Regions from separate parts of the Homo sapiens genome. Here region 1 is linked to region 2. The links are contacts of gene promoters, found by promoter capture Hi-C in human tissues and cell types (Jung and others, 2019). All regions are on one chromosome and are shown on one strand. The core of a region is centred on a gene start or on the middle of the fragment in contact, and the rest is flanking DNA. Distances in the headings are between cores, read along the strand shown.

Evidence for each region. The method cuts DNA at HindIII sites, captures the fragments that hold promoters and counts their contacts. A contact is called where the count stands out against the background at its distance.
Region 1: a fragment that was not itself captured here is called in contact with the fragment with the promoter of TBC1D12 in region 2 in 1 of the 25 tissues and cell types used here (ovary).

What each region holds. Positions count from the first base shown.
Region 1 is chr10:94,338,607-94,341,306 of GRCh38, forward strand. NOC3L (NOC3 like DNA replication regulator) reads right to left here. Exons shown (of 21, transcript NM_022451.11): 15 at 1,827-1,890; 16 at 1,670-1,741; 17 at 1,133-1,314; 18 at 2-130. Among named protein-coding and RNA genes, the nearest start is that of NOC3L, 23 kb to the right of the region's middle. The HindIII fragment of the contact is 6,628 bases long and covers 1-2,700 here.
Region 2 is chr10:94,401,192-94,403,891 of GRCh38, forward strand. It overlaps TBC1D12 (TBC1 domain family member 12), which reads left to right and starts at 1,350. Exons shown (of 13, transcript NM_015188.2): 1 at 1,350-2,393. The coding sequence starts at 1,423. RefSeq lists enhancers at 1,098-1,257, 2,558-2,700 and silencers at 1,588-2,077, 2,148-2,477. The HindIII fragment of the contact is 13,183 bases long and covers 1-2,700 here.

The sequences.
Region 1 (2,700 bases), core at 177-2,676, 63 kb before region 2:
CCCGCAGAGCATGCAGTTCCCACAGAGCAGTGTTCTGAGCATTGCAGTACTCAGGCTCATCCAGTTCAGGAAGGAAAACTCCACTTCCCTGAGATTCACTGTCAAGCAGTAGATCTGTTTTGGGGAAAGTCTGCAAAAATGTCACATAAAAAGAATTGGTTAAATTAACATTGTTAATATAAGAGGTGTTACTGGTTTGTAGTTGTATTTGCATTTAAATTTATGGTTGTATAAGAGCTTTGCATAAAGTCTTTACACCTAGATTTAATAAAAAACAATTTAAGTTTATATAGTAAGAACAAGAGTTGCAAAAAAAAATTTTATCTTTGCTTGCTTTGAAAATTAATTTTATCTTGCAAAAGAAAAAAATATGCTTCTCACCTTGCAATCACACTTTTAGAAATCTGATAGAAATAATTACATCAGATAAATACATAAAGATATTCACTATAGCATCATTTGTAATAGCAAAAAAAGAAATAACCTATATCAAGAGAAATAGAAAGAAGCAGAAAAACCAGACTGCCTACATTTGAATATCACTTCTACCACTGACTGGCACTGCTACTCAAGCCAAGACACTTAACCTCTCTGGACCTCAGTTTTCCCACATGTACAATAGGAACAAGAATAGTAGCTACCTCAGAGTTATGAAAATTAAATTTTTGTAAGGCATTTATAACTGGAAGGCACATAGTCAGAACTATGGTGTTTGTTAAGCAAAGAATTAAATAAACCTTACATAAAGAGAGTAGTGACATTATAATGTGTTTACCATGATTAAATGCTAAGGTTAAAAAAGTGGTAGAATATATAGCATAATCCTCTTTCCATTAAAATACAAAGTTGAGTTGTTTCTATGTGTATGTGTTTATATATGAACTTTAAAAGGCTGCTGGAAAAATACCCACCAAATGGTAAATGGATACCCACCTAATGACACTGAGAAGTGTCAATAGGTATAAAATGCTTTTTTTCAATTTTATATACCTCTTTTGTCACCTGATTTTGTTACAAGTGTGAATTACTTCTGTAATTGAAATAATATAAAAGGGGGGAAAAGACATGCCTCAAACAAAAAAAATCATTGCATTATAAGAACTTAGCTCTGTTCATTTGTATCACTACTTACATGCATTAATATTCTGGTAGTTGCTAAAATGCCAATACTTGAATTTGGAAGAACATGAAGAGCAAGGGTACAAAGGCGTTTGATGAAGGCAAGAGCTCGCTGCTGAGAAACTTGCTTTCTGCGCTTAGTTAGCATGACATCAAGGCACTGGAGTACAATCTCAACACCTTCATTGGTAGCACCTAAAACAGCAGACATATTCTTCAGAGCTGTTCTCATTACTTTTTCATTACGCAACTGGACTGAACTTCAGATAAACCCAAGATAAACTTTTGTACCTGTCCCAAACCATTTCTCTAATCAATGAGGTAGTGCTATACTGCTAAGGAGATACAGCGGGCTATACTTACTGCATCTCCAGTCAATTCCAGAAGCTCTTTCTCCAAGTCTTACATAAGATTAAATACAGATGCATGGCACTGGAAAGTCACCATTTTATGTACCTGTTCCTATTTCTCATTTGTCTACAATGATGGGTCATAACATATTCTTAAAACATAAATACATATAAAAGAAACATTATCTAAACATACATACCTGCATGTAATTTGAACAGTGTTTTGTAGAGATGTGTGTAGAATTTCAATGGATCAATATTCAGAACATCACCTTTGAAATGACAACAAACACCAATTAGGTATGTTATAGCATTCAAAGGTAAGGCAAACAAAACTTGATTAAGAAAATATCATACCTTGTCCAGAAAGAATATGAAAAGCAGTCTGGACACAGTGAAGACTTTCTTGATAGCTTAGGTCCTTTAAAAAAAAAAGGGGGGGGTGAGGGGGATGGAATATTAAGAATGGTAATTGCCATTTATAGCTTTAAAAAAGAACTTTAAGGCCAGGAGCAAAGACTCAAGCCTGTAATCCCAGCAATTTGGGAGGCTGAGGCAGGCAGATCATTTGAGCCCAGGAGTTCAAGACCAGCTTGGGCAACATGGCAAAAACCCATCTCTCAGGGCCGGGCGCGGTGGCTCACGCCTGCAATCCCAGCACTTCAGGAGGCCGAGGCGGGCAGATCACGAGGTCAGGAGATCAAGACCATCCTGGCTAACACGGTGAAACCCTGTCTCTACTAAAAATACAAAAAATTAACCGGGCATGGTGGTGGGCGCCTGTAGTCCCAGCTACTCGGGAGGCTGAGGCAGGAGAATGGTGTGAACCCGGGAGGCGGAGCTTGCAGTGAGCCGAGATCACGCCACTGCACTCCAGCCTGGGTGACAGAGCAAGACTCCCTCTCAAAAAAAAAAAAAAAAAAAATTTCTACAAAAAAATAGAAAAATTAGCCAGGTATGGTGCCCCACATCTGTAGTCCCAGCTACTCAAAAGGCTAAAGTGGGAGGATCACCTGAGCCCTGGAAGGTCAAGGCTGCAGTGAGCTGTGATTGCACCACTGCACTCCGGCCTGGGCAACTGAGTGAGACCCTATCTCAAAAAAGAAAAAAAAGACCTATAAAGGTTATCTTTAAGATAACCTAGTATGAGGCAGATTTACAGGGTGACTATAGTTTACAATAATCTATTATCTATTTCAAAATAGCTAGGAGGGAAGAATTTGAATGGTTG
Region 2 (2,700 bases), core at 100-2,599:
GGTGCCCACCACCATGCCCAGCTAATTTTTCGTATTTTTAGTAGGGACTGGGTTTCACCATGTTGGCCAGGCTGGTCTCGAACTCCTGACCTCAGGTGATCCACCTGCCTCGGCCTCCCAACGTGTTGGGATTATAGGCGTGAGCCACTGCGCCCAGCCAACTCAAGTTTTAGAACTCTATATGCTGGATATTTTCAGTCGTTTACTTTACCAGATGTATTTCCCCTATTAATCGTTTTTTTCCTATCCACTTTTCTATTTCTTCAAACCATATCAGTTTCAGTCTCATATCTTTGTAGTAATCATTGGTTACTCTCTCTTCTGTCACTTCTGATCAGTTATCAAGTCTTTCGTCTTTTACTTTAAATATACTTCATTTCCACTCAATGGTCAATCATCCCATTTTAATCCACTATCGCAGAGTGCTGGAATTATTTCAATAGCTCCTCTCTGCCTGACCACTTCCTCTCCCTCCTTAGGTGATAATCTTTTTTTCTTGTTTGAGACGGAGTCTCGCTCTGTCGCCCAGGCTGGAGTGCAGTGGCGCGATCTCGGTTCACTGCAAGCTCCGCCTCCCGGGTTCACGCCATTCTCCTGCCTCAGCCTCCCGAGTAGCTGGGACTACAAGCGCCCGCCACCATGCCCAGCTAATTTTTTTGTATTTTTAGTAGAGACAGGGTTTCACCGTGTTAGCCAGGATGGTCTCCATCTCCTGACCTTGTGATCCACCCGCCTCGGCCTCCCAAAGTGCTGGGATTACAGGCGTGAGCCACCGCGCCCGGCCGGTGATAATCTTTTAAACAGAGGACTGTGATGAAACATGGTGCTAGGTGAGCAAGATAACTTAGGATATCTTTCTTTTGTGTTAGATGAAGTGAAGAAGGGAGGGTGTTGACCCTCCTGGATGAAGTGATGAAGCCCTGAACTGTGGCAATGATGCCGGAGAAGGATGTAAAAATCGTAAAGTCGACTGGTGACCAATTAGAGCTGGAAGGACTTACCCACGCTAACACCTCCCAAATATGGGAGTATTTTACTACCATAAATGAAATACATCAAGTGAATTTTTGCTAAGCGAGCAATACCCGCGCTTCGGTAAGAACTGTCACGCTTAGAGCGGGCCAACCAGCTTCCACCATCCAGATGGCGGATCCTAGATTGGCAGCCTGCGTCTCTCTAGCTACCGTCTCTATGGTTCGGGGAATCTCCAGGTCGGGGCTTGACCGGTCCGACTTTTGCGCGTGCGCGAGTCCTGGCGCGTGCCCGCCCTCAAGCAACTGTCCGACCCAGCGGGTGGGAGGGGTGGGTCTGGGAACGTTGCGGCGGCTGTCGCCGCGGCCCCAGCACCCAGAGCTGTTCTCTGGCCAAGCCTGCGCCTGTAGTCCTTCTTTGCCTCCTGGGGCGGCCGCCACCCACCCCCAGATGGTGGGTCCGGAGGATGCCGGAGCCTGCTCGGGAAGAAACCCCAAGTTGCTCCCGGTGCCTGCGCCGGACCCCGTGGGCCAGGACAGGAAGGTAATCCGGGCCACGGGCGGCTTTGGCGGAGGCGTCGGCGCTGTGGAGCCGCCGGAGGAGGCTGACGAGGAGGAGGAGGCTGACGAGGAGGAGGAGACGCCGCCTCGGCAGCTCCTTCAGCGTTACCTCGCGGCGGCCGGGGAGCAGCTGGAGCCGGGGCTCTGCTACTGTCCGCTCCCCGCTGGCCAGGCCGGCGCCCCGCCGCCCTCGGCAGCCCCACGATCGGACGCCTGCCTGCTGGGCTCGGGCTCCAAACACCGCGGCGCGGAGGTGGCTGATGGCCGCGCGCCGCGGCACGAAGGCATGACCAACGGCGACTCGGGTTTTCTGCCGGGCCGGGACTGTCGCGATCTGGAAGAGGCTCGCGGGCTGGCGCGCGCCGGCGGCCGGGAGTCGCGCCGCCGCCGCCCCTACGGCCGCCTTCGCCTGGAGGGGCCTGGCGACGAGGACGCGGACGGCGCGGGAAGCCCGTCCGATTGGGCCTCTCCGCTTGAGGACCCGCTGCGGAGCTGCTGCCTGGTGGCCGCGGACGCCCAGGAGCCCGAGGGCGCGGGCAGCGACTCGGGGGACAGCCCCGCCAGCAGCTGCAGCAGTAGCGAGGACTCAGAGCAGCGGGGAGTCGGCGCCGGGGGTCCCGAGGAGGGCGCGCCCCCTGCCACCTCGGCCGAGAGGACTAATGGGGGTGCGGAGCCGCGCCTGGGCTTTTCTGACATTCACTTCAACTCTCGCAACACGTTCCAGGTGAGCCGCGGTCAGAGCGCCCGCGATCACCTGCCCCCGGCGGGGCCGCCGGTGCCCTTGCCCGCCGCGGAGCAGGGTCCTGCGGGGGCTTCGGCCCGGGCTCGACGGAGTGGCGGCTTCGCGGACTTCTTCACCAGGTACAGCGCAGGCTGCATGGGACTCGGGGCGGGTCCGGGGCCGGGGCCGGAGCCGGGGTCTTGGTGGGAGTCGGAGCCGGAGCCGGAGCCGGAGCGGAGAGCTTGGTCGGCCGCTTCCGTGCCAGCCCCACACGCGTCAGGACTTAGCTTTGATTTGTCACTGGAGGAAGAGGAACTGGGTCGGCTTTGTGTTTCTATAGGAGAAGTTGTGAGCTCTGTGGACAGCGAGTCTTTCTGTTGCCTTGTCCGCGGGAGGCTGTACCTGCCATTCATACCTGGCTTCTGAGCAGTCAGGTTGGGCCAGCTG